6 separate regions of the Homo sapiens genome follow, and regions 2, 3, 4, 5 and 6 are each linked to region 1. The links are contacts of gene promoters, found by promoter capture Hi-C in blood cells and fetal thymus (Javierre and others, 2016). All regions are on one chromosome and are shown on one strand. Each heading gives the region's core, a stretch centred on a gene start or on the middle of the fragment in contact. The rest is flanking DNA. Distances are from core to core; before and after follow the strand shown.

Region 1 (4,424 bases), core at 1,011-3,510:
TAGGCTTTCAGGGGTCCAGGTCTGGGATTCCCTATCATGCAATCACATCCATCCCCTTGGTCCCTGCTGTATATCACCCTCAGGAACGGGAAAGGATGAGTTACGTTTATTGCCCCATCCCTTCACTGAATGTTTACATTAACAAACACCAGAGAGCAAACTGGGCTTCCTACACTGGGCCATGCAGAGGACAGGCCAAGAAACTCCACATCATAACAGCCTCCTGATGCCTGGGCTTGGCTGGAGCTCACATGAGGTGCTTTGATTTCTTCTGCAGACTCTCGGTGATGGATGCTACAACTGACTTATCATCTTTGTCTGAAAGAGCAAAGGAAGTATTCGTTATATTAATGATGCTGGCGACCAGGGAAATTCCAAACTGCTGGACTTCCTATGCAGGAAACCAGGAGCTGGACCCTGGGACCCTTAATCTTGGGTTGGCAGAGTGTGAAGGGGCAAGAGCTGCCATTTATCTAGCACTTAATATTTGCCAGACATTGTGCCAGGCAGTTGTGTACTGTCTCATTTAAGCCTCATAGTCCTATAAAGAAGATGAGAAAACAGGCTCAATGAGGTAGCTTACTAAGGTCACATGGCTGGTCAGTGGCAGAGCCAGGGCCCTGGGCCCATTTGCTGTGCTTACAAGCAGATTTGAGTTATCAGGGATCTCTTTAGCTGTGGAATGAAAGCTGGATAGCACCCACAGTGCCTTCCCTGGCCTAGTTCTTTTACACAGCTCAGCAGCCTCTCTGGAGATATTGTCTCAGTGCCAGACACTTAGCTAAGCACTCGAGAGACAGAGCAACAGGACAAGGTCCTTTCCCCAAAGAAAGGTATCTATAACTGGATAAAAAAGGTCTGTAACCATGGAGACCACAGCAATGGAGTGTCATGGAAGGTTCAGGAGTAGCAGAAGGTGAGATGAGAGGTGGGGGAGGGGGAAACCTTCTTGGTTTGGGATTTTACCATGAGAGGAAAGCTGGGGGAAATTTAAGCAACAGAAAGCAAGGCAGGCCAGCTTTGCATTTAGAGTTCATGCTGCTAGCTGTGTGGCTATGAAGACAGTAGACTGGGAAGGAATAAAATGCTTCCCCCTATGTGTGCACACATGAGTAGAAACATGGCATGCATGTACAAAAGGGAGGGTTCCCTTCGCTCCTTCCCTTGTTTGTGCCCCCCACCGGTCCTTATCCTAGACCAGTTTTAATTTTTATTGCACATCAGAATCACCCGCAAAATTTTGTAAACATATAGGTTATTTCCAGAACCGTGCCAGAGAGATCGTGATTGGTGAGTCTGGTTGAGTCCTGATCACCAGTATCTTTTTTCTGAAGGCAGGTCTAGGCTCACCAAGAGTTGCAAACCACATCTTATCTAGGGATTGAGAACTCTCATGTCTGCAGGGGCCAGGCATATAACAAATGACATCGAAAGGATGGGAGAGTGGTAAGAACTGTGGCCAATTAAGAATGTTTGCACCACCTGTTGGCAGTCAGATTAAAAAACGGTGCCAGCCAAATAGTTGACCAATGGCCCACAAGACCAGCCTTTTGCGCCTCTCCCCCTCCTCGAGGCCGGACCCCGCGGCGCCCTCACCATAGACGGTGAGCGTGCAGCTGCTGCGGTCCTTGCCCAGCTCGTTCTCCACCAGCACGCTGTAATCGCCGCTGTCCTTGAGCGTGCAGGTGGGGATGACGAGGGTGCACACGCCGCTGGTGGAGTTGTACCAGAACTTGGAGTTGGCCGTGATGTTGACGTCGCCCTTGTAGAGGGTCACTGTGGGCCGCGGGTTCCCAAGGAAGGCGCAGGTCATGGTGCAGTCCTGGCCGCGGAGCACCGTGTGTGGCTTGAGGGGCGTCACGAAGCGCGGCGCGTGGCGCCAGTCCTTCTTCTCGTAGGGCTTGAGCTTGGCGCTCAGGTCCTGGACTGCGCGGGCGGGGCGGGGCAGGCCGTGAGGGCGCCCCAAGGCCCCCACCCACCACCCACGTCTTACAGTTCAGCTTACACGGAACCCCGAGGACCTAGGCCACATTCCCAGCGCCACCAACTCTGGGGGCCCAATGTTACACTGGTTCTTAAGGGCTCCCCACCCGCCCCCAGGCCTCCCCCGACCCCCCAGCCCCGTCCCCAGCCACTCCAGGGTTCTGCCACCCAAACCACGCTTTCCCACACCCCTGGGGCCGAGATGTCATTCCAGCGCCAGCTTCCTGGACCCGGTTATTCCCAGCCTTTAACTCCGCCTCCAAGCTTCCCCTACGTCATATCAGCGACCACAGTCTCCCCTCTTATCCCTTTAGCTCCTCAGTTCGAGTTTCCCGACGCGGCCCCCACCCTTAACCCCTAGCCTCCAGGGATCCCAGACATCCTCCCGGCTCCCTAGAGCCCTCCCCTGTTCTCAGCCCCGTTAGACCCTCCCCTCAGAGCAGAACGCGTTTGCGCTCTATGTCCCTCCGCAGCCCCTCCACCGTCCTCTCTGCCCCCAAAGGTACCTCCCCACCTCCACTTTAGTCTCACCCCTAAGTACCCCGAAGAAAGCCAATATTTCCTTCTCTCCGCAGCGTCCCAGATATTAACCGTTCTATCTCAATGGTTTTCAGATTTTATCTTGCCTCTTGGGTACCCTTTGGGACCCTTATGTCATCCCCACCATCAGGGCACCCAGACTTAACCCTAACTGCAAGTCCCAGACTCACTCTGGTCCTTATTGATGAGCCAGGTGTCCCTGGAGTCAAGTGGCTCACTGTCACCGATTTCATTCCGAGCCACCACTCTGAAGTAGTACTTCCTGCCTGGGAGCAGCCCCGTCACTGTGTACTTGTTGCTGAAGACACGCTCGGCTGCCGTGTACCAGGTGGCTGTGCTTGCATCCCGCTTCATGATGATGTAGTGAGCCTCACCGTCCTCCTGCACATCTGGGCTGTGGTTCCAGGTCAGAGTCACTGTGTTGGGGACTTCCTCAAACAACCGTAGGTTTGTGGGGGGCCGAGGGAAATCTGGAAGAGTTGGAAGATCTGTCAGCGACCTTGGGGCACCTGAAGTATTATGTCCCCACCCCAGCCATCTGCCAAGTCCGATGGAAGATAAGATGGGGCAAGTCTCAGGCAGCTGGTGTCTTGGAGTCGGAAAACTATTTCTGAAGTCTGCTCTGCCATTTACTAGCCTCGTGACCTGGGGTAAGTTACTTATCTGAGACTTCTTTCCTCAATTGCAAAATAGAGCTGACAATGACTATTTCGTAGAAATAGTGGGTAAAGAGACTGGCATGTAGTTACTGTTCAGTAAAAATGAATCCATTCCTTCCTTGGGGGTTTAGAGCTTTATTTTAAAGCTTCCAGCTCTCTTTAAGCAGTCACCCCAATTTTTAATGGATTCATCTCCATTTGTCCCTCCTGCCCCTCCACCCATTTCTACTCTCTCTGCCGACCATACTCTGTATGATAAAGTCTTGCTCTGTGGTGTCAAAGAAATCTTCATGGCCCTAAGGCATGACTTTCCTGTGGTAGGAACTCAAGCGGCACTGGGGAGCTGTGCTTTGGAGAGTGTACAGGGATGGGTCTTGGAGGCCTCTGCCTTCTCTCCATACCTGCCACGCGCACATGGATGTCATAGCGTGCTTCTCCAAACTCATTCTGAAGCAAGATTCGGTACACCCCTGAGTCAGAGCGCTTGGTGCTATTAATGAGGAACTGGGAGTGGTTTTTGCTCTTGGTAATTGTCTCTCGGCCCTTGGTGGGAACGCCATCTTTCTGCCAGATCACGTCAGGTGGTGGTGAGCCCTGAGTAGTGACAGGAGATGGCACAACTGGTCACACAGATGATATTTGGGGGCAGGCCTTCCTCCATTGTCGAGGAGTTTCCTGCCAGGCTGTCGCACTAGGGGTCTGGTGAGGGGCAGAGTCAGAGTCAGAGTCAGAGACTGTGATGGCTACAATAGCCATCTTGGTTATGTGGACAGTGTATGGAGGTCAGGGTCAGGGACAACTCACAGAGAAGGCTGCATGGATGCAGAGGGCTGTCCCAGCGCGAACCACCATGTGACTCTTCAGCCGGGCACTGAGGTCAAACTTGGGTGCAGCTGAGATGGAGGAGACAGAGGTGGAGGCATGGATCTGTCTTTCAAGAAGACTCTGCTTTAAGCCTCCTCATCAAAGCCTTCCCAACCTCTCCTCCTTTATGCCCCCACTACAGGCCATACAGACATCTAGCTGCCCTGCAACCCTGTGAAGCATTTATTTGTTTTCTCATCTGTCTCCTTCTACTAGTACGCAAGACCCTGGAAGGCAAGTCCTTGTGTCTTGTTTCTATAACCCTAACACCTCCTTTTGAAATTGCCATTGCAACAATTATAACAGCGAGAAAATTATGACAGTGAACGAGATCTGATCTAACCAACCCCCATCTTGCCTTTACCCTCCAAACTGCCC
Region 2 (4,424 bases), core at 937-3,436, 460 kb before region 1:
ATGTTGATGGTACTGGTATAAAAATAGACACGTAGACCAATGGAACAAAATAGAGAACCCAAAAATAAAACCCCATACATATAACCAACTGATCTTTGACAAAGTCAACAAAAACATACAGTGGGGAAATGATACCTTATTCAATAAACGGTGCTGATAAAAGTGGATAGCCATATGCAGAAGAATGAAATTTTATATCTCTCATCATATATATATATACTCAAGGTGGATTAACAACTTAAATGTAAGACCTGAAACAAAAAATTCTAAAAGAAAACCTAGGAAAATTCTACCAAACATTGACCTAGTCAAAGAATTTATGACTAAGATCTCAAAAGCAAATGCAGCAAAAAAATATATACACAAGCAGGACTAAACTAAACTAAAAACTTCTGCACAACAAAAGAAATAGCCAACAGAGTAAACAGACAACCTAAGAACGGGAGAAAATATTTGCAAACTACTCATCTGACAAAGGACAAGTACCAAGATTCTACAAGGAACTCAGACAACAAGAAAAAAGGAAATAACCCCATTAAAAAGCGGGCAAAGGACATGAACAGGTATTTTTCAAAAGAAAACATACAAATGGCCAACAAAATATGAACAAATGCTCAACATCACTAATCATCAGAGTCACAAATTTAAACACAAATTTAATCACAAATTAAAACCACAATGAGATACCATCTCACACAATCAGAATGGCTATTACTAAAATGTCAAAAAAACAACAGATGTTGGTGAGGATGTGGAGAAAAGGGAATGCTTATACACTGCTCATGGGAATGTCAATTAGTACAGCCTCTGTGGAAAGCAGTATGGAGATTTCCCAGAGAACTAAAAATAGAGCTACCATTTGACCCAGCAGTCCCATTACTGGGTACTACCCAAAGGAAAATAGATCATTATATAAAAAATATACCTGAATGCATGTATTTATCACAACACTATTATTCACAGTAGCAAAAATATGGGATTAACCTAAGTGTCTTAGGTTAATCAACGAATGATTGGAGGGGTGTGTGTGTATGTCTGTATACACATATATACACCATAGAATACTATTCAGCCATTAAAAAGAATGAAATCGTATCTTTTGCTGCAACATAGATAGAACTAGAGGCCATTATCTTAAGTGAAATAACCCAGAAAGTCAAATATCACATTTTCGCACTTATAAATGGGAGCTAAATAATGTGTACACATGGACATAGAAAGTGGAATAATGGACACTGGAGACTCAGAAAGATGGAGGGCAGAAGGGGGCCGAGGATTGAGAAATTACCTGACAGGTACAATGAACTCTACTTGGGTGATGGTTACACTAAGAACCCAGATTTCACCATTATGCAATCTATCAGTGTAACAAATCTGTACTTGTACCCCCTAAATCTATAAATAAATAAATGAATGAATATTTTAAATAACAATAATAAATGCTGAATGAACACATGGAAGCACATTTCTGAACGTTTGAAATAATTCCTAATTCAATGACATGTTTAAAAATAACAAGCAGCTCAATTTGCATGTAGCATGAGGCACATTAATTAGTCATAGGAGATAAGACTGAAAAGCTTGGATACCCTATTAGTCAGGGTTCTTGAGAGACACAGGACAAATAATTTATTTGTGTATGTATGTATGTATTTATTTATTGTAAGGAATTGGCTCACAAGATAATTGGGGCTGAGAAGTCCCACGATCTGCCCTCTGCAAGCTAGAAACTCAGGAAAGTGTAATTCAGTCTGAGTTCAAAGGCCTGAGAACCAGAGCAACTGATCACGTAAATCCAATTTGAGGGCAAGAGAAGATGAGAGGAGATGTCCAACTCAAGCAGTGAGGCAGGGGAAAAGGGAGGCAAATCTGTCCTTCCTCTATTTTTGTTCTATTCAAGCCTTCAACAGATTGGGTGATGCCCAGTTGCATTGAGAATAGCAATCTACTTTATTAAGTCCAATTCAAATGTTAATCTCCTCTGGAAACACCCTCACAGACGACCCCAGAAACAATGTGAATCTGGGCAGCCTCAAACCGACACAAAAATAAATATAACAGTAGGCTGGGCTCAGTGACTCATGCCTGTAATCCCAGCACTTTGGGAGGCTGAGGCAGGCAGATCACTTGAGCCCAGGAGTTCAAGACCAGCCTGGGTGACACGGCGAAACCCCATCTCTACAAAAAATATAAAAATTAGGCAAGTGTCATGGCGCACATCTGCAGTCCCAGTTATTCAAGAGGCTGAAGTGGGAGGATCTCTTGAGCCCCGGGAGGTCGAGGTTGCAGTGAGCCATGATCATGCCATGGCACTTCAGCCTGGATGAAAGAGGGAGATGCTGTCTCAAATAACGAAACAAAACAAAACACAACTATAACAAAGAGCAATGCAATTTCCCTTTCTCAAACTTTTCTAACAGAGAGAAGCATGTTAATTCTTACTGAGGAAAACCAAGTAATTAATAAAAGGTATTTGGGTGTGCCAGAGCATAGGTATTAGGTGTGACTTTACAAATTATAAATTCCTGGGTAAACCAAGCACCTTTTTCCTTGGATACAAATTTCGATTTAAAAATTTTTTTCTTGTTTTTTTTATACTTTTTCTTCCTCTGAACCTATGGACTATATTGAATTAAATTTTTTTTCAAATTATAGATTTCAAGAAGGGGAGTGATTTGGTCCTTTACAGACGGATGAATGAATTTCTGTATCCAAATGTTGCTTCAGTTAATTATTTCTAGTAATAATATGTTGATTGCAAAGTTTTGAATATCTACAAAGACTAGACTTTGAAAGCTTGCTTTATTTGACTTTGAAAGCCATTCTTTCTCTCATCCTCCCTTTCTCTCCCTCCTGCCCCCCAAAATCTACAACTTCAGTACTTGTGACAGAAATCTAATTGTAAGCATTTACAATTGCTATTGTAATAATAGCATTACAGTCTTTTTTTACAACTTGGGGTCAACTCAGACTTTACTAGACTGAACACTAATCTCAACAGTGCATTGAGTCTGCTCCCATGAGCCAATCTTCCACGCCTCTCTCCATCTTATTTATCTTGCCCTTGCCTTGTTTTGGCATTGGCACATCTTTGAGACTCAGACTCAAACCTCCTATACCTCCTATACCTACACTTCTATTAGTGTCTTTTGATGAGAACTGTATGAGAAAGTTCTGTTGTAAATAGTTCTACTTTATATCCATACATTTTCTTCCTCCTTGACAAATAAATTTGTCTTTACTCTGTAAATATAATTTTATAACTAGTCTTCTCACCTTAGGAGTCCTCCTCAATCCTTTTTCAGAGAAAAGGGGTATGCCAGTTATCAGTTTCTTTATTTTCAGCTCCACACCCACCCCTTTGTCCTATTTGTGATGCTGGAGCTGGACCCTGTGAACATTTCTCCTTTGCCAGTTGGGCATGATGTTAATCTTCACCCATAGAGGGCGCTAGAGGGCCAAGCAGGAGATGAAGACATCTTTTCCTGTTCTTTTGTGCTTTGCTTCCTTTCAGCTCCTGCAGTACTCTTCTCCTGTACAGGACAACCAGTGGCACTTGCCCCAGAGATCTGAGTGGCATCCCAAGGCCAAGACAGTTTCCTGACAATTTCTGTGGCACCTCAGTAGGATGTCCATGATGTTTACCAGCAGCCCACTTATTTTAATCAGCTTGGGCTGCTGTAACAAAATAGTACAGCCATGCTGTGAGTTGGGGTTTCAACATATACATTTTGGCAAGATACAGTTCACTCCAGAGCACTGCCACTTCCACAGCTGGCTTCCCAGGGGTTTTGATAACCTATCTCCTGCCCCCAAGCAGTTTCCCAAATTTGTCACAGGAACCCTAGCTGCATTCCCAGAGTTAAGTTACACCCTGGGTAGCTTCCTGCCAAGTTTCATTAATACCTCAATGGAGTTCTTATATGTCAGTTTTGGCTTGAAGGACCCAGTAAACTATTTGCCATCCAATGTCAGTCTTGTGAGGGGCCCAATCTCAAATTTATACCTTCTCATATTCTGTACTCTTAGAAGTTAATGCTGCTCTCAGTTAATAATTCTTTATATTAAAATTTCCCTTTTCAAATTACTGCCTGGTTTCTGTCTCCCAAAGGGACCCTGACTGATAAAACAGTTCTTCTCTATCTGGCTCTCTCTCCACTGCCACCACTTCCACAACTTTGATCTAGTTAAGCTCCAGAAACTCAGAAAACATTCATAAAAGGAGTCGCATTACATATTTAGACTTGAAAGAAGGCAATGAAAATAGAGTGGAAGAGAACTGCATTGGAGGTATTTTTTAGATGGAGTGGGTAGAAATTCATTAATGCCTGGATTTGTAGGTGTTGCTGAGAAATGAAAGGAAGACTCGGGTGGCAGTCGCTGAGGCAGGACTTCACAATTCAATTGTCTGTAGCCCCTGCCTC
Region 3 (4,424 bases), core at 920-3,419, 440 kb before region 1:
CTGTTTTTATTTTAGTCCACTTGACCTTTGGGGAGTAGTTCCACTGGCTCATAAGTATCAGCCCCCCATAGCACAGCACCCCACACTGAGCCCGGAAGCAATAAAGAATCCCAATCTGCTGTCACTAACCAGCACGCTCAACTGCCATGCCCTTTACTCTTCTCATCTCCCTGCTTTCACGTCACACCAACTAATTTCTCTATGAGTCAGCCTCAACTCTCCCAACACTCTGCCCACCCTTCTTCTACTACCTTCCAGTGAGCTCCTCGAAAGAAGGGTCTGCGGTGAGGATGCCCCTTTATCTCTGCCTATTTCCTTCCCATTACAAAAACTTGAAACCTGCCTTTCCCATGTTGATTTCACTTTATTCTCATCTTTACCCATGGGGTATGCCTCCTGCAATTCCTCCTAGACAATAGAATGAGAAAGAGGGGTCCTCGTCCTCTTTGCTTTCCATGACCATTTCTCCATTCTTCACCTCTGTGATGTGTCCTCTTTGAAGTCCCTGATAAATTCATTACCACCTTCTCTCCAGTCTTACTAATGTTATCTGCACAAGTGATTTCCAAACAGGAAGATTTTCAAACACTGATTCCTGAAGATCACCCCCAACTCGCTGAACTGAGACCAAGACCTCCAAGATTATGGCTTAGGAATCTGCATTTTTTTTTTTTTTTTGAGACAAGAGTCTCGCTCTGTTGCCAGGCTAGAGTGCAATGGTGGAATCATAGCTCATTGTAACCTCAAACTCCTGGGCTCAAGTGATCTTCCTGCCTCAGCCTCCCAAGTAGTGAGGACAACAGGAGTGTGCCACCATGCCCAGCTAATTGTTAATTTTTTGTAGAAATGGAGTCTCACTATGTTGCTCGGGCTGGTCTCAAACTCCTGACCTTAACCCATCCTCCGCCTCCGCCCCCAAAAGTGTTGGGATTACAGGTGTGAGCCACCGTGCCCAGCCTAGAAATACCCACTAGAAGCTTCTGTGTAGACAATCTGCTTAGTGATGTTTGGAGACAAAGTACCTCTTTATTGTATTCATTGACAAAACTCTCCAGTCCTCTCCCATCTTCATGGAAAATTTTCACAGTTCATTTACGGCCCTCTTTCCAACACATTCACTGCCAATACTCTTATTGACAATAACTGTATTGTTGAACCTTCCAGTATCCTGCATTCCCGGATCAAGGCCCCCTCAAAGCCCTGATATGCAAATATCTGGGAAAAGAATGTTCCAGAGGAAAGGAACAGCTAATCCGAGGCCCCTAGGGTAAGATGTGCCTGGGGGTTTGGAGACCAGTGTGGCCAGAGCAAAATGAGCAGGAGGAGAGAATTGGATGATGAGGTACGAGAGGAAGGAGTTAGGACAGTTTGAGTAAAGTTTGAAAACCATTATAAGGGCTTTGACTTCAACTATGAGTGGAAGTGGAATCCTCCGGAGAGTTTTGAATGGAGAGTGATAGAAGTTGTCTTGTGTTGTAACAGTCTGGCTGCTATACTGAAAAGAGACTAGTTGGCGGCAAAGGGGGAAATGTGGAAGCCAGTTAAGAAGCCATCATAACCCAGAAGGTGATGCCTAATAACATCTCTCTGGGAGCAGCGGAGAGATGATAAGGGTTTGCCTTCTGAATATGTTTTTTGACAATTAATGTAAACATTTCAAGTAGGCTGAGATTTTATTGCATATTAACAATGTCCATGTTCACTCGCGGCAGCCGCCCCCTTCTGCGCGGTCATGCCGAGCCAGCACCTGGGCCTGGAACTGGGCCGCAGCCCCCAGCTTCACCCACCACCTCCCTACCATGGACCCCTGCAAAGTGAACGAGCTTCGGGCCTTTGTGAAAATGTGTAAGCAGGATCCGAGCGTTCTGCACACCGAGGAAATGCGCTTCCTGAGAGAGTGGGTGGAGAGCATGGGAGGTAAAGTACCACCTGCTACTCAGAAGGCTAAATCAGAAGAAAATACCAAGGAAGAAAAACCTGATAGTAAGAAGGTGGAGGAAGACTTAAAGGCAGACGAACCATCAACTGAGGAAAGTGATCTAGAAATTGATAAAGAAGGTGTGATTGAACCAGACACTGATGCTCCTCAAGAAATGGGAGATGAAAATGTGGAGATAACGGAGGAGATGATGGATCAGGCAAATGATAAAAAAGTGGCTGCTATTGAAGTCCTAAATGATGGTGAACTCCAGAAAGCCATTGACTTATTCACAGATGCCATCAAGCTGAATCCTCGCTTGGCCATTTTGTATGCAAAGAGGGCCAGTGTCTTCGTCAAATTACAGAAGCCAAATGCTGCCATCCAAGACTGTGACAGAGCCATTGAAATAAATCCTGATTCAGCTCAGCCTTACAAGTGGCGGGGGAAAGCACACAGACTTCTAGGCCACTGGGAAGAAGCAGCCCATGATCTTGCCTTTGCCTGTAAATTGGATTATGATGAAGATGCTAGTGCAATGCTGAAAGAAGTTCAACCTAGGGCACAGAAAATTGCAGAACATTGGAGAAAGTATGAGCGAAAACATGAAGAGCGAGAGATCAAAGAAAGAATAGAACGAGTTAAGAAGGCTCAAGAAGAGCAGGAGAGAGCCCAGAGGGAGGAAGAAGCCAGACGACAGTCAGGAGCTCACTATGGCCCTTTTCCAGGTGGCTTTCCTGGTGGAATGCCTGGTAATTTTCCCGGAGGAATGCCTGGAATGGGAGGGGACATGCCTGGAATGGCCGGAATGCCTGGACTCAATGAAATTCTTAGTGATCCAGAGGCTCTTGCAGCCATGCAGGATCCAGAAGTTATGGTGGCCTTCCAGGATGTGGCTCAGAACCCAGCAAATATGTCAAAATACCAGAGCAACCCAAAGGTTATGAATCTCATCAGTAAATTGTCAGCCAAATTTGGAGGTCAAGCATAATGCCCTTCTGATAAATAAAGCCCTGCTGAAGGAAAAGCAACCTAGATCACCTTATGGATGTCGCAATAATACAAACCAACGTACCTCTGACCTTCTCATCAAGAGAGCTGGGGTGCTTTGAAGATAATCCCTACCCCTCTCCCCCAAATGCAGCTGAAGCATTTTACAGTGGTTTGCCATTAGGGTATTCATTCAGATAATGTTTTCCTACTAGGAATTACAAACTTTAAACACTTTTTAAATCTTCAAATATTTAAAACAAATTTAAAGGGTCTGTTAATTCTTATATTTTTCTTTACTAATCATTGTGGATTTTTCCTTAAATTATTGGGCAGGGAATATACTTATTTATGGAAGATTACTGCTCTAATTTGAGTGAAATAAAAGTTATTAGTGCGAGGCAAACATAAAAAAAAAAAGTCCATGTTCATCTCTAAATGACATCATTGTTCCAAAGCTTTTCCATTCTTCTTAACCTTCCACCTGTCAATCTATAGGAGATGACTTCTCCTACTTCACTCATGCATTGACTCCTTCAATCAATAAAAGTGACTAAGAACCTGCTACAGGTGAGGTGCTGTGTTTGGTGTTAAAGTGACAACAGTTATCTGTCAATAAGCCTGACAAGGTTCCTATCCCTGTGTTTTGTGCACTCTGGGTCAAACTCAGAAATGCAAACAGGTGGAGAGCGATGAGTTCTATGACTGGTAAAGAAAAGGGCCTGCTGGTTTCCCTCAGGATCTCTGTCCTTCATCTCAAAATGCATCTTCCTTGTTATCGTTCCTCTCCTTCCTGTCTCAGAGGAAGACCTGCTCCTGCTACACTCTGGGCAACCTTGTCCCCGTGGCCCTGTGGCCCCTTGGTTGTTGAAGTCTATGTTATGCCCTATCTTTTACCCTCAGTCACTCTCTCTGTTAACATTCTCCCTGTGCCCTGTAACCCTCCCTCATCTTTAAATAAATCCTCCTCCTTTGACCTTCGCATGTATTCAGTCATGCAACTCAACAAGCATTTATTGCACAGTGATATTCAATTTGCCACTTGCTAAAAGTCTGAACCTTGGCAGCTGAATGTGATCAGAAAAAAAGCACGACTGCTATGACTAGTCTCACTTTAAATTCATGGTCGTTGACCAAGAGCTACCATACAATCCACTACCTTTCTCAAGTTCAGTCACATTCTTCCTTTCCTAGATGTCTGCTTTCTACTTCTCTTCTCTTCTGAAACTTCCCACAACTCCTCGTTCATTCTCTTCTCAGTTGACAACTTTGCTTCCTATTTCACTGAAAAATAGAAGCAATCAGATATGAACTTCTGGCTGGGCATGGTAGCTCATGCCTATAATCTCAGCACTTTGGGAGGCCAAGGCAGGAGGACTGCAGGTTAGGAATTTGAGACCAGCCTGGGCAACATGGTGAAACTCCCACTGTACTAAAAATTTTAAAAATTACTCAAACATATTGGCAAACAACTGCAGTCCCAGCTACTTGGGAGGTTGAGATGCAAGGATCACTT
Region 4 (4,424 bases), core at 1,925-4,424, 420 kb before region 1:
ATATCAAATTCAAATCTTCAGTGTTCTACTTATTTTGGGTGTTAATTCCATTATACACCGTCTTATTTCAGTAATTTCCATATTGTGCCAGACAAGATATAAAAATAATTCAACTCCAGTCAATAATACCATCTGTCTTCATGTGACCAGGATGAAAAGCTTCTGCTCCCAACATGGAAGCCACAGTAAGAAAAGAATCTGTCTAATCCACTAGCAACAAGCAGTTAATACTGTAGTTCGGAATAATACTAGGACATTAACATTCTAATTCCAGCAAACAAGGACTGACTCTTTTCAAAATTCAACTTTGGTTAAGAAATGCTGAGTACAACTTTGGTTAAGAAACACTGAGGTCATGGATAAAGAGTCACAGATGCCGATGCCAAGGGTACAGACACTGACAAAAGTAGCCCCAATAAGATGGCAGGATTTGGGGGTGGTGTCTTTCCTTCAATAACAAATGCGTTCAGAAGGTTCAGGAGCATGATTTAGTTTTTCTCAAAATGTCATGACATCCTGCTGAATCTTCTCCCACTAGGCCTGCTGGGACCAGAGAAACCGATCGCATTTTTCAAGCATGCTTTGTATCAAGGCCCTGAAATCCCAAAGAAAAGAAACAAGCAAATTTAGTTGTCATTGTTCATTCTTCACAGAAAACTTAAAAACTACAGAGTTTCAGAGGATTCAAAAAGTTGACTGATTCTGTGCATTAAAAGACACAATGCACAGAGTGAAAAGGCAACCTACAGAATGGAAGAAAATATTTGCAAATCATGTATCTGATAAGAGGTTAATATCCAGAATATCAGAGAACTCTTACAGCAACAACAACGAAAACACCCAACCTGATTCAACATGGGCAAAGGACTTGAATAGCTATTTCTCCAAAGACAATTATATAAATGGTCAATAAGCATATGAAAAAATGCTCAACATCTCTAATCATTAGAAAAATGCAAATCAAAACCACAATGAGATATATAGTACCTGACACCCACTGGGATAGCTACTGTTTAACAAAAAACAACAACAGAAAATGACAAGTGTGGGGCTAGCACATGGAGAAATTGGAACTCTTGTGCACTGCTGGCAGGAAAGTAAAATGGTGCAGTCTCTACAGAACAGTATGGTGGTTCCTCAAAAAATTAAAAATAGAATTACCATATGATTCCAGAATTCCACTTTCAGGTATATACCCGAAAGAACTGAAAGCAGTGTCTGGAAGACATATTTGTATACTCATATTCATAGCAGCGTTATTCACAATAGCCAGAAAGTGGAAGCAATTCAAGTGTCTGTCAACAGATGAATGGATAAACAAAAGGTGGCATATATATACAACGGAATATTATTCAGCCTTAAGTAGAAAGGAAATCCTGACACATGCTACAACATGGATAAACCTTTAGGATGCTATGCTCAGTGAAAACAGGCTGGTCACAAAACGACAAATGTATTAATTCCACTGAGATGAGGTATGTAGAATAGTAAAATTAATAAAAACAGAAAGTAGAACTGTGGTTGCCAGGGGCTAGGTAGAGGAAGTAAGTTGCTGTTTAATGGGTGTGGAGTTTCAGTTTTGCAAAATGAAAAAGTTCTAGAGACTGGATGCAAAACAATATGAATAACTTAATACCACTGAGCTGAATATTTTTAAATTGTTAAGATGATAAATTTTATGTGTATTATACCACAAAAAAAAATTACTGAGACATTAGGTATCTGGTACCAGTAATTTTTTTTTTTTTTTTCAGAGTTTTGCTCTTGTTGCCCAGGGTGGAGTGCAATGGCGTGATCTTGGCTCACTGCAATCTCTGCCTGCTGAGTTCAAGCGATTCTCCTGCCTCAGCTTCCCGAGTAGCTGGGAATTACAAGTGTCTGCCACCATGTCCAGTTAATTTTTTTGCATTTTTTTTTTTTTTTTTTAGTAGAGACAGGGTTTCACCATATTGGTTAGGCTGGTCTCGAACTCCTGACCTCAGGTTATCCACCTGCCTCAGCCTCCCCAAGTACTGGGATTACAGGCATAAGCCACCGTACCCAGCCAGGTACCAGTAATTTTTTTGTTTTTGAGATGGAGTCTCGCTCTGTCACCAGGCTAGAGTACAGTGTCATGTTCTTGGCTCACTGCAACCTCCACCTTCCGAGTTCAAGCGATTCTCCTGCCTCAGCCTCCCAAGTAGCTGGGACTACAGGCACGTGCCACCACACCCAGCTAATTTTTGTACTTTTTTTTTTTAGTAGAGATGGGGTTTCACCATGTTGCCAGGATGGTCTCAATCTCTTGACCTCATGATCCGCCCACCTCGGCCTCACAAAGTGCAAGGATTACAGGCGTGAACCACCACGACCAGCCTGGTACCAGTAATATTTTTAAAGAATCAAGGACACATCAGATTATTCAGGTTAATCTGAACAGCATCTTGGTCATGGCTGTGAATGAAATATTACTTTAGCCTCTTCCCTTAATTACCACATCAGTCTCAGTCTCCTCATGTTAGTGATGGGTCGGGACTAAATGATCTCCACATCTACATCTGAAAGTCTGTGGCCTTCTACCTTCTCCAAGCACTATGCAGAGGGTAGGACAAACTGATATTACCTCTGCCTTTTCTCAGCAATCCTCAGGATATCGCAGGTTCTGGTAAACTTCTCTGACAACTCAAGGGCCAGACCACATTCCTGTAGCAGTGACCAAGCCCGATCTGGGCCCATGGCCTTAGCTAACAGAAGTGCCACATTCTCCACATTGATGGGGGAAGGCCCATCACTGAGGCTCCCATTTAGTGACTCCTGGGGGGCTGGCCTCGTGCTCTTGCTCTGTATGAGATGAAGGAGAAGCTTCCATTCCTCCACGGTCTCTGGGATCCAACCTAAACACACACAGGGAAGTGTCAGTTTGACCACTCTTAGCACACTGACTGGATACAGGAGATGGTCAAAACTGTGAAAATGTTTAATGCCAAAACGTAAAAATATTCAAGAACACAATCTCATCACCCTAACACAAGTTGTTTTCTGAAAATTTGTTGTATAAATTGTTCATGAGAAAGAGAAGCCACAAAATTAACTTTAATTTTTTTCTTTTTTTTTTTTAAAGAGAGACAGGGTCTCACTACCATGTTGCCCAGGCTGGTCTTAAACTCCTGAGCTCAAGCAAGCCTCCCACCGCAGCCTCCCAAAGTGCTGGGATTACAGGCATGAGCTACCACACCTGGGCAGCTTCAGAATTCTTTCAACCACTCAGTAATTACCCAGGGCATATCCTATGCTAAGCACTGGATATGTAATGATGAACAGAAGAGACACAATCCCTGTACTCTTGTGGAGCCTACAGTCTAGTATAGGAGACAAAACTTAAACACGTAAGTATATACTTATAAAGTATGCTAAGCACTATGAAAAAAAAGAACAAGGAAGCATCAGAGAGAATGGCTGATTCTGCCTGGAAGATCTGAGAAGGGCTCTATGAGGAAGTGACATTGAAGCAGAAAGCTAAAAGATGAGACAAGCTTAGAGGACATATGCATGGGGCCCACATAATGTGAAAACTTGGAGTAGGAGCCATCAGAAATAAGGGGCCTGCATTTCTGATAAAGGAAACATGGAAGACAATGTGACACAGGAAAGAACTTGACGAATTCAAGGAATTTTTCTTTTCCTTTTTGTTTTGAGACCAAGTCTTGCTCTGTTGCCCAAGCTGGAGTGCAGTGGTGCGATCTCAGCTCACTGCAACCTCCACCTCCCAGGTTCAAGCAATTCTCCTGCCTCAGCCTCTCAAGTAGCTGGGATTACAAGCATAAGCCACCATGCCCAGTTAATTTTTGTATTTTTAGTAGAGATGGGGTTTCACCATGTTGGCCAGGCTGGTCTCAAACTCCCGACCTCAGGTGATCTGCCCACCTCGGCCTCTGAAAGTGCTGGAATTACAAGCGTGAGCCACCGCGCCTGGCCAGAATCATCTTTAATTAATGGGAAATTAAAAAAAAAAAAAAAAAAGAGCCTAAGCACAAATTTTGGAGGAAGTCCTTGGTCTGAACCCCAGCTCCAGCATTTACAATTAGTAGCTGTGTGACTTTGGGCCAATTAACTGTCCCTTCTGTACCTCAGTTATCTGGAAAGTGGAAATAATAGTAACTATCCCCAGAGTTTGTTATCTCATTTAAAACAACATATGGAAAGCACACAGTATAGTGCCTAACACATAGTAGGCACTCATGAAATAGAAAAGTTGCCTATAGTTTATTCTTAATTGTGATTTCATAACATATCAAGGGCTATAGGTAAAAAACAAAAACAAAAACAAAAACTCCACAAATGTGACAACTAAGTGGAATCACATATTAAATATATGATCATTGAAAGGTTCACCAAATTTTTTTGTTGAGAGGTCTGGAGTAACTTCTAAAAATTGACAACCAAGA
Region 5 (4,424 bases), core at 1,203-3,702, 400 kb before region 1:
ATATAATTACCTTTGACTTCACTCCAAAGAAGAACTTGAACATTCTGAGGAATGAAAATATAAATTCCTCTTTCTGTCCAAGTCAGCACACAATGCTCACTGCAAGAGAAGAAGTGAAGAGAATTCAAGTGTGCTAGGATACAAAAGTTTATAATTCCCCGAATTCAGATCCTTGCATTAGCTATTAAAGTAAAATCAAACTGTACAAAGAAAACACAAGAGTGATCCAGCTAATCGAGTCCTAACAACTCCTTTCTGTCTGTAACAACAGCCCACTAATAAATAGCATAAAATGATGCCAAATTGGGAAAATTCAGACACATATACTAGATATTTTCCAGAAAAAGAAAAGGGTCAGCTGGGTGCAGTGGCTCACGCCTGTAGTCCCAGCACTTTGGGAGGCCAAGGTGGGTGGATCACTTGAGGTCAGGAGTTTGAGACTAGCCAGACCAACATGGTGAAACCCTGTCTCTATTAAAAATAGAAAAATTAGCCGGGCATGGTGACATGCGCTTGTAATCCCAGCTACTCGGGAGGCTGAGGCAGGAGAATCACTTACAGGGAGGCGGAGGTTGCAGTGAGCCAAGATTGTGCCACTGCACTCCAGCCTGGGTGACAGCCTGGGTGACTCTGTCTCAAAAAAAAAAAAAAAAAAAAAAAGAAAGAAAGAAAAGGCTGGTATCTGGAAAAAGAAAAGCTTAGGGACCTTTACCTGATGTTCGTTAAAGCAGCTGAACTTTCCATACTGGACATGATACGGGCACATTTAAAACAAAGACTAACATCTTACTGCCAATCATTACTCTAGTGAGACACTTTTAAGAACAGTAATATTTTGATGTTGTTAGTTGTGTGTGCGCAACAAAAAGCTGACAACTCCTGCTCAACGATGTGCCAGGAGCTTTATTAAAGGCTCTGTCTATATTACCTAACTTTGTAGAAGCCAGTCAAGGTAGATATACTATTCTTATTAAAAAGAGAAAAAGCTAAGGCTCAGAGAAATAAAATAATATACCAAAGGCCATTCAGCATGAAATGTATACGAGTCAGAATTTATACTGGATATGCAGGATAGTCTGGCTCCAAAACCTGGACTTTTTTCCTATATAACACAGAATCTACTTCCTCCTCCACTTATCTTCACTAACCTACTCACTATTATCTGGAATCCTAACTATTCCACTTAACTGAATTCTCAAAAAGTCACAGATTCCCAAACTGCCAAACCCAATAACCCTTCATCACTTCCCATTTTCTTAACCCCAAGCAGAAGCCAACCCTGCTAACTGTTCTCTGCTTCTTGAACCTCACCTCCTGGGGCTCCTGGACACTGCATTTTCTTGGTTCTCTTTCTCTCCAGTCCTCTGGTCTGGAGGACTCATTTTTTTCTCCTCATCTTTTTCTATACTTACTCATATAAATTTATCTCATATATTTCATTTATTCTCTCAAGGCTGCTACTATTTTTTATATACCACTGGTAATCTCCACTTCCTAATGCTGTTCAGGACATTCTCCAACTTACAATGTTCTTAATCTAGCCACCTCTCAAGGATCAGAAGTTCTACTTCCCTCTGAAATCCTCCCTTACAGCCCACAACACTCACCCTATTTCTTGCACTCAACCTATTTCTTATACTCTGCTCATATGGCACTTAATCATCTACTGCACTGTCACAACTCTTACTTCTTATTGTTGTTAAACTTTTTGGACAAATAAATCATATCTCTCTAATAAATTATACTCTGAAGAACAGGGACTATATTTCTTTTTCCTTTATGTTTCCAAGAGTACTAAAAATGGTTCCATGTGGCTATGAAACTAATTGATTTTTAACAGGAGTTGGGCCCTCATGTAAGTGTTAAACATTTTGTCAATATGAAAGACCAGATCACTATCCCTACAGGAAAGTAATCTTTGTCATAAAATGCAAGAAATGGTCAGAATCTGAATCCAAAGTAAAATTGAGAAGGCTGCCTTCAAGAGTCAAAGGAGAAAAAAAGCGGGGGGGGGGGGGGTGTCAGAGGATCCCTGAGAAAGAGATACAGGATCATAATTTTGATACTGAACCTGACATTCAGCTTGGAAAATTCCTTAGGAATAGCAACCTAGATTAGATGGGGGGCTGAGGACGGGAACTTAGATAAAAGCTGATACTTGTAATTTATACATTCCTTGTCCCCTTATCCCTTCACTGATAATAAATGGGGACATAAGCCTAACAGCATTGTTTTAGAAGTTCCAGAAAGGAATGTGCCTGAAAGGAAACAAAGTACATAAGGATGCCCCCTCTGGGATTTATGGGTTGCAACAGTAAAAGTCCCATAGGGCACAGTGTACGAATGAAAAACATAAACAAACAGGAATGAAAAGAAGCCCTCCTCTTCATGTTTTCGAAAAAACTCTTTGTTGAATTCACTATCATTTGAGGGTTTTCTATGTGTCTAGCACTGCCCATGAAAAGGAGTTGACAATCTGATGCTGGGATGCATACTCATAATACAGTAAGACAGTGGCAATGATAAAGGAATGAATATGGTTTGACAACAGTACATGCACAGAAATAGGTTGTCTAACGTAAGCCTCTTTGAGGAATCAGCAGAAGTTTCAAAGTGGCGTTAATTGTTGCTTTAGCTGAGGAATAGGCAGAGCCAGATCATCAAAGGCTTTTTGTCTACCATGGTAGGGACTATAACAGCAGCTTTAAATAGCTACAGCCAAAAGAATAACTCTACCAGGAGAGCTAAGTGTATTGTGGCCCGACTACTAGAAAACATATTCTTGGGTACTTTGGGAAGCCGATGCAGGTGGATTGCCTGAGCTCAGGAGTTCGAGACCAGCCTGGGCAACATGGTGAAACCCCATCCCTACTAAAATACAAAAAATTAGCCAGGCGTGGTGGCGTGCGCCTGTGAGTCCCAGCTACTTGGAAGGCTGAGGCAGGAGAATTGCTAGAACCTGGGAGGCAGAGGCTGCAGTGAGCTAAGATCGCACCACTGCACTCCAATGTGGGTGACAGAGCAAGACTCCGTCTCTAAAAAAAAAAAAAAAAACTTGGGTAAGGGACTTCCCAATACCCCGCACATCACATCATAGTCAACAAATATTTATTAAGTATCTATCATGTGCCAGGCATTAGGCCAAGCATTGAAAAAATAATAGTCAACAAAACAGAAATAAAGCCCTCATGGAGCTTACTGTTTAGGGTAAGACATGTATAAATATTATATTAATATGTAATTATAAACTGTGACAAGTGCCACAAAGGAAGAATGCTAAAGGAGGAAGAGTTTTTAATATGCTTTATCTAATTATGGGTAAATAAATAAATGTCTTTCTCTAGTAACTTTCATGAAGAATTATGGAGTTACTAAAGTGTTATAATGTCTATAATTCACTTTTTTTTTTTTTTTTTTGAGACAGAGTCTTGCTCTGTGGCCCAGGCTGGAGTGCAATGGCACGATCTCGGCTCACTGCAACCTCTACCTTCCAGGTTCAAGCGATTCTCCTGCCTCAGCCTCCCTACTAGCTGGGATTACAGGAGCATGCCACTATGCCTGGCTAATTTTTGTATTTTTAGTAGAGACGGGGTTTCTCCATGTTGATAGGCTAGTCTTGAACTCCCGACCTCAGAAGATCTGTCCGCCTCGGTCTCCCAAATTGCTGGGATTACAGGCATGAGCCACACCCGGCCTTATAATTCACTTTTAAATACTTCAGTGTAGGAAGTATGACAAATACATGAACTGGTTTTTATCCTTACCCTTAGAGGCAATTAGTTAACACTTCAATTATTTTTAAAAATCACAAAGAGTGGTTAGTTAGCCTTTCAAAGAACTGAATCAGGTGTTCACACTCCAGTGTACCATATGACAACTTCATACAATATTTGCTGAATTTGCATCAGAGATCTTGTTAACTAGCCTAAGGGATATCAGAAGTAATTTTTTATTGATGAAATAGAGTTCAAGATATTGGCTGGAAATCATACACTGGTACTCTTGCTCTTGCAGAACAAGGTGTAAGAATTGGCAGGTCCAGCAGTTTAACAACTTTTAGGGCAGCACTTTGTGCTGGACTTTGCACCTAATCCAACTAGAAGGCTGGCTGAACTCTGACATTAGAATATGGCTGAAACTGCCTCCAGCAGATCTTTCATGCAAGCATTTGTCAGAGTACCTATAGGATAGAGAGCTGAAATTTCACCAAGCTTACAAGAACAAGTTCTACAACTATTTTTGTGCCTGCTTGCTAAAAACACATACATCTGTGTGGCAGATTTTGATCTGGGACTTGCTTTCATTATAGCATCCCATTAGGTAGGAGAGGTTATGAGGCGGTTAGTAGAGCTATCTTAGCTCCAATTGTTAGAAGTTTCTTGGCAATTATAAACTCTCCAATTGGCTTGGAAAGAGAAGTGTAT
Region 6 (4,424 bases), core at 605-3,104, 330 kb before region 1:
TCAGTTTTTCTTTCTCTTTCTTTCTTCTTTTTTTTTTTTTTTTTTTTTTTTAAGAGACTAGGTCTCACTCTGTGGCCCAGGTTGGAGTGCAGTGGCACAATCACAGCACTGCAGCCTCCACCTCCCGGACTCAAGCAATCCTCCCACCTCAGCCTCTGGAGTAGCTAGGACTACAGGCACATGCCACCATGCCTGGCTAATTTTTGTATTTTTTGTAGAGACAAGTTCTTGCCATGTTGCCCAGACTAGTCTTGGACTCCTGGGCTCAAGCAATCTGCGTGCCTCGGCCTCTCAAAGTGCTGGGATTACAGGCAGGAGCCACTGCACCCTCTTTCTTTCTCTGTCTCTTTCTTTCCCCCCGCCACCACCACCCCCCGACCCGACTTTAGTTTCTTAATTTGTAACATGAGCATAATAGTAGTACTTACAGATTTACCGTGAAGGTTAAATGAGCTAATATAGAATAGTGCCTGGCTCAAAATGACCGTTCAATAAATGTTCTTTCTTTTTTTTTCTGAGAATAAATGTTCTTTCTATCATTTATTACTATTACAGTCATATATCACTTAACAATGAGGATATGTTCTGATAAATGGATCGTTAGATGAGTTCATTACTGTATGAACATCACAGACTGTACTTATACTTATTCCTCCCGCCTCGGCCTCCCAACATGTTGTAGGCTATACCTCCTGGATGGTATAGCCTACAAAACATAGAGGCTATGTGGTACAGCCTATTGATTTGAAGCTATAAACCTGTACAGCATGTTACTATACAGAATAGTGTGAAGAAATAGTAACACAAGAGTATTTGTGTATCTAAACATAGGAAAGATACAGTAAAAGTATGGTACAGTATTATAACCTTACAGGACCACCCTTGTATATGCAGTCCATTGTTGACCAAAACATTATGAGGCTCATGACTCTATTATTATTACTTACCATTACCAGGCTTCAGTTCAAAGCTTATTGACTTAGGGCCAGGCGCAGTGGCTCACGCCTGTAATCCCAGCACTTTGGGAGGCTGAGGCTGGCGGATCACGAGGTCAGGAGACCGAGACCATCCTGGCTTACACAGTGAAACCCCGTCTCTACTAAAAAAAAAAATTAGCAGGGCATGGTGGCGGGCGCCTGTAGTCCCAGCTACTCGGGAGGCTGAGGCAGGAGAATGGCGTGAACCCAGGAGGTGGAGCTTGCAGTGAGCCGAGATTGCGCCACTGCACTCCAGCCTGGGTGACAGAGCGAGGGGAAAAAAAAAGCTTATTGACTTAGGCTGCCATATAACAACATTGGTAAAAAGCTGAGGTAGAGATCAAGGGAAAGAAACTCTTATTAGTTAGTTTACTACTATCTACTATCTATTAGATCTGTTTGCCAAATATTTGCCATGCTATATGACCATTCTTATTTCATCCTCAAGATTCATTCAATAATTATTAAGCTACTGTGCATCAGTATACAGCCTTCTACTTATAAAGTCTCAAATTGACTGGGTACAATGGCTCACACCTGTAATCAGCACTTTGGGAGGCCAAGGCAGGCGGATCACCTGAGGTCAGGAGTTCAGGACCAGCCTGGCCAACATGGTGAAACCCCATCTCTACTAAAAATACAAAAATTAGCTGGGCATGATGGCTCATGCCTGTAATCCTAGCTACTCAGGAGGCTGACGCAGGAGAATTGCTTGAACCCAGGAGGCAGACATTGCAGTGAACCGAGATCACACCACTGCAGTCCAGCCTGGGCAACAGAGTGAGACTCCATCTCAAAAATAAATAAACAAATAAATAAATAAATAAAAGTCTCAATTTATTGGTCAGGTGTGGTGGCTTTATGCCTGTAATCCCAGCTCTTTGGGAGGCCAAGGCATACGGATCACTTGAAACCAGGAGTTCGAGACCAACCTGGGCAATATGGGGAGACCCCTGTCTCTACAAAAAATAAAAATTAGCCAGGTGTGGTGGCACATGCCTGTAGTCCCAGCTTCTCCAGAGGCTGAGGTGGTAGGATCACTTGACCCGGGAAGTTGAGGCTGCAGTGAGCCATGATCATGCACTGTAAGGTGGACAACAGAGACCCTGTGTCAAAAGTAAAAATAGAAAGCCTCTGGTTATTAAAAAGCATTGTCCTGGCCAGGCACAGTGGCTCATGCCTGTAATTCCAGCACTTTGGGAGGCCAAGGCAGGTGGATCACTTGAGGTCAGGAGTTTGAGACCAGCCTGGCCAACATGGCAAAACCCTGTCTCTACTAAAAATACAAAAATAAGCTGGGCGTGGTGGTGCACACATGTAATCCCAGCTACTCGGGAGGCTGAGGCACGAGAATAGCTTGAATCCAGGAGGCGGAGGTTGCAGTGAGCTGTGATCGCACCACTGCACTCCAGCCTGGGTGACAAATAAACAAATCACTGTCCTAGATGATGGGCAAAATGCCCTCGTGAAGCTTACTTAAGAATAAACAGGCTTGGAGAGATGAAAAGCCCCTGCATCCAACTCGGGATTGGAGAGCTAAGATTCAAATTCAGCTCTTGAATGCAAATTCTGTGCATCTACTGACCTCTCTCTCCCTACCCTCCTCACTCTCTCGCTAACCTCCTCACTCTCTCCCTAACCTGATCTTGCAGGCTGGAAATTTTTCTTCTACCTGATATAAATAATTGGGAGCAGGAGAGCTATTTTATTTCTATCAGGCCTCACACTGACAAGCACAGATGGCTCTGAGGCTGAGACTGCTTTATTCTCCAAAAGTGCAGTGAAGGAGATGGATTACTGGATCTGAAGTCACTAGGGAGGCTTGAATTCTGCTGTTGGTACCGCTAAGCATCCATTATGCACTAGGCCCTCAAAAGAATTCAAAGGGCCATTACTGTGTTTTTTTCTCTTGGCTTTAGACTTTTCAAAAATTAATTTTGTTTTTTTTAGCAACATTTTATGTGCTCATAATTTAAAAAGTGAAAAGCACTAGAAGGCACATTTCAAAATACCACGTCCACTATCCCACTCACTGCCCCCTACCCTTTATTCTCTCTTCACTGAATCAATTACTTTCCACTCTTTTAGCTGACAGTATACCATTCTTATTAATTTTGTTATTTTCTACTGACTTTCTATTATGGTAGTTGAAGATTTAGTGTTCTTATAATACCATTACTCCTTTCCCCTCGACTCCAGGCTCCTGATATAGTTATTTCACAGTTTTTCGATAATTAATAGTGTTTACATTTTGATTATGTGAATATTGTTTAGTGGTTGAGACAGGATCCTGGCAGGATACAAATGGCACCCTTAAACTGGGTTATTTGAAGAGATTAAAGGGACAATTTACAAAGGTGTGGGCGGCATGTCCAGAAACCAAGCAAAGGCCTGATGAGGGAATGGGAAGAAGTTAACAGGAGAGAAGAGAGACCCCTGAGAAGAGGTAAGGGGCAGGGTCTGCCCATGGTCCTGCAGAGAGGGTGCAATCTCACTCTTCTTCCTCACTCCCAGTCTTCACCAGTGAAGGTGGAGGACAGGAGACACCATGGCTGTGTGGTCCATTCAGGTCAACCCCCAGAGCCCAGAGCAGTATGGCAAAGAGAAATGTAGACCTGCAAGGCAAAAAGATGTTCAGAATTACAACCAGGCAGAGTCAACTATAAAACCCTCAGCTGGGCTGGGCATGGTGGCTCATGCTTGTAATCCCCAGCAGTTTGAGAGGATCACATGTACCCCAGGAAGGTTGAAGCTACAGTGGGTGGTGATCACACCTCTGCATTCCAGCCTGGATGACAGAATGATACCTTGTCTCTAAAAAAAAAAAAAAAAAAATAGTATTTATGGGACTTTTCTCTGAGGCTGTTCAGTCTCTCCAAAGAAGGGACCTCCAGGTTTCGGGAATGTAAGCCTGGATGCCACCCTTCTGGGAATCACCTGGGGAAGGGAGCTCTCTGTATACAGACAATCTCCTATGCCCCAGCGCTCTCACCATTGTGCTTGGGCCCTGATTGCATTTCCTCAGAAAATAAACCTGTTCTCACTTAAGGTGGAGGCAGGAGGTAGCCATTTTGTTTCAGGGTGGGAATAGAAGTCTGAGAGCCTAGCATTTCCTTATAGCCCCTGTTACAGCCCCACACTTTACCCTTCCCTTCCATGGTACCTGGTACCTCCAATTCCTGAGACTGAACAGTGCTCTTCAGAGCAAATCAGCTTCCATCTCTTCACTCCCTCCCTGTGTGGGCACTTGAATTTCACTATGGTCTCAGTCTCCACTGATTTCTACTTTCCAAAGCATTGCTGGCAGACTTCTCATCTTCCAGTCCCTTCATTTTTGTGTGTTATTTTCCTATCACTTTAGTGGGGCTTGAGGAAGGAGTTAAGATAAATGTATCAGGTCAATTCATCATGTTTAACCAGAGGTCCACTAGCATTGAGTTTTGGTAA

What was found. The method cuts DNA at HindIII sites, captures the fragments that hold promoters and counts their contacts. A CHiCAGO score of 5 or more calls a contact.
Region 2: a fragment that was not itself captured here is called in contact with the fragment with the promoter of IGSF22-AS1 in region 1 in 9 of 17 cell types (total B cells, total CD4 T cells, total CD8 T cells and 6 more); the score reaches 8.4 in total B cells.
Region 3: a fragment that was not itself captured here is called in contact with the fragment with the promoter of IGSF22-AS1 in region 1 in 1 of 17 cell types (naive B cells); the score reaches 5.5 in naive B cells.
Region 4: a contact is called between a fragment that was not itself captured here and the fragment with the promoter of IGSF22-AS1 in region 1, in 6 of 17 cell types (total B cells, naive B cells, total CD4 T cells and 3 more). The highest score is 9.5, in total B cells.
Region 5: a contact is called between a fragment that was not itself captured here and the fragment with the promoter of IGSF22-AS1 in region 1, in 5 of 17 cell types (total CD8 T cells, total CD4 T cells, non-activated CD4 T cells and 2 more). The highest score is 7.0, in total CD8 T cells.
Region 6: a contact is called between a fragment that was not itself captured here and the fragment with the promoter of IGSF22-AS1 in region 1, in 1 of 17 cell types (activated CD4 T cells). The highest score is 5.4, in activated CD4 T cells.

Annotation. Positions count from the first base shown.
Region 1 is chr11:18,704,221-18,708,644 of GRCh38, forward strand. IGSF22-AS1 (IGSF22 antisense RNA 1) reads left to right here and starts at 2,261. Exons shown (of 3, transcript NR_186353.1): 1 at 2,261-2,929; 2 at 3,058-3,173. IGSF22 (immunoglobulin superfamily member 22) reads right to left here. Exons shown (of 23, transcript NM_173588.4): 19 at 3,987-4,075; 20 at 3,584-3,776; 21 at 2,694-2,993; 22 at 1,597-1,926; 23 at 92-318. The coding sequence ends at 248. TMEM86A (transmembrane protein 86A) reads left to right here. Exons shown (of 3, transcript NM_153347.3): 3 at 1-565. The HindIII fragment of the contact is 1,081 bases long and covers 2,246-3,326 here.
Region 2 is chr11:18,240,501-18,244,924 of GRCh38, forward strand. The region is part of intron 3 of SAA2-SAA4 (SAA2-SAA4 readthrough); the gene reads right to left. It also overlaps a transcript of SAA2 not described here. Among named protein-coding and RNA genes, the nearest start is that of SAA4, 5.9 kb to the left of the region's middle. RefSeq lists enhancers at 3,282-3,576, 3,707-3,756 and a silencer at 3,302-3,596. The HindIII fragment of the contact is 1,216 bases long and covers 1,579-2,794 here.
Region 3 is chr11:18,260,183-18,264,606 of GRCh38, forward strand. It overlaps the pseudogene ST13P5. Among named protein-coding and RNA genes, the nearest start is that of SAA1, 3.9 kb to the right of the region's middle. The HindIII fragment of the contact is 2,389 bases long and covers 976-3,364 here.
Region 4 is chr11:18,279,348-18,283,771 of GRCh38, forward strand. HPS5 (HPS5 biogenesis of lysosomal organelles complex 2 subunit 2) reads right to left here. Exons shown (of 23, transcript NM_181507.2): 22 at 2,603-2,873; 23 at 1-595. The coding sequence ends at 535. Among named protein-coding and RNA genes, the nearest start is that of SAA1, 15 kb to the left of the region's middle. RefSeq lists enhancers at 3,246-3,305, 3,346-3,405. The HindIII fragment of the contact is 671 bases long and covers 2,840-3,510 here.
Region 5 is chr11:18,300,818-18,305,241 of GRCh38, forward strand. It overlaps HPS5 (HPS5 biogenesis of lysosomal organelles complex 2 subunit 2), which reads right to left. Exons shown (of 23, transcript NM_181507.2): 9 at 11-99. Among named protein-coding and RNA genes, the nearest start is that of HPS5, 19 kb to the right of the region's middle. The HindIII fragment of the contact is 3,514 bases long and covers 696-4,209 here.
Region 6 is chr11:18,372,431-18,376,854 of GRCh38, forward strand. No RefSeq gene overlaps it. Among named protein-coding and RNA genes, the nearest start is that of MIR3159, 13 kb to the right of the region's middle. The HindIII fragment of the contact is 1,184 bases long and covers 1,263-2,446 here.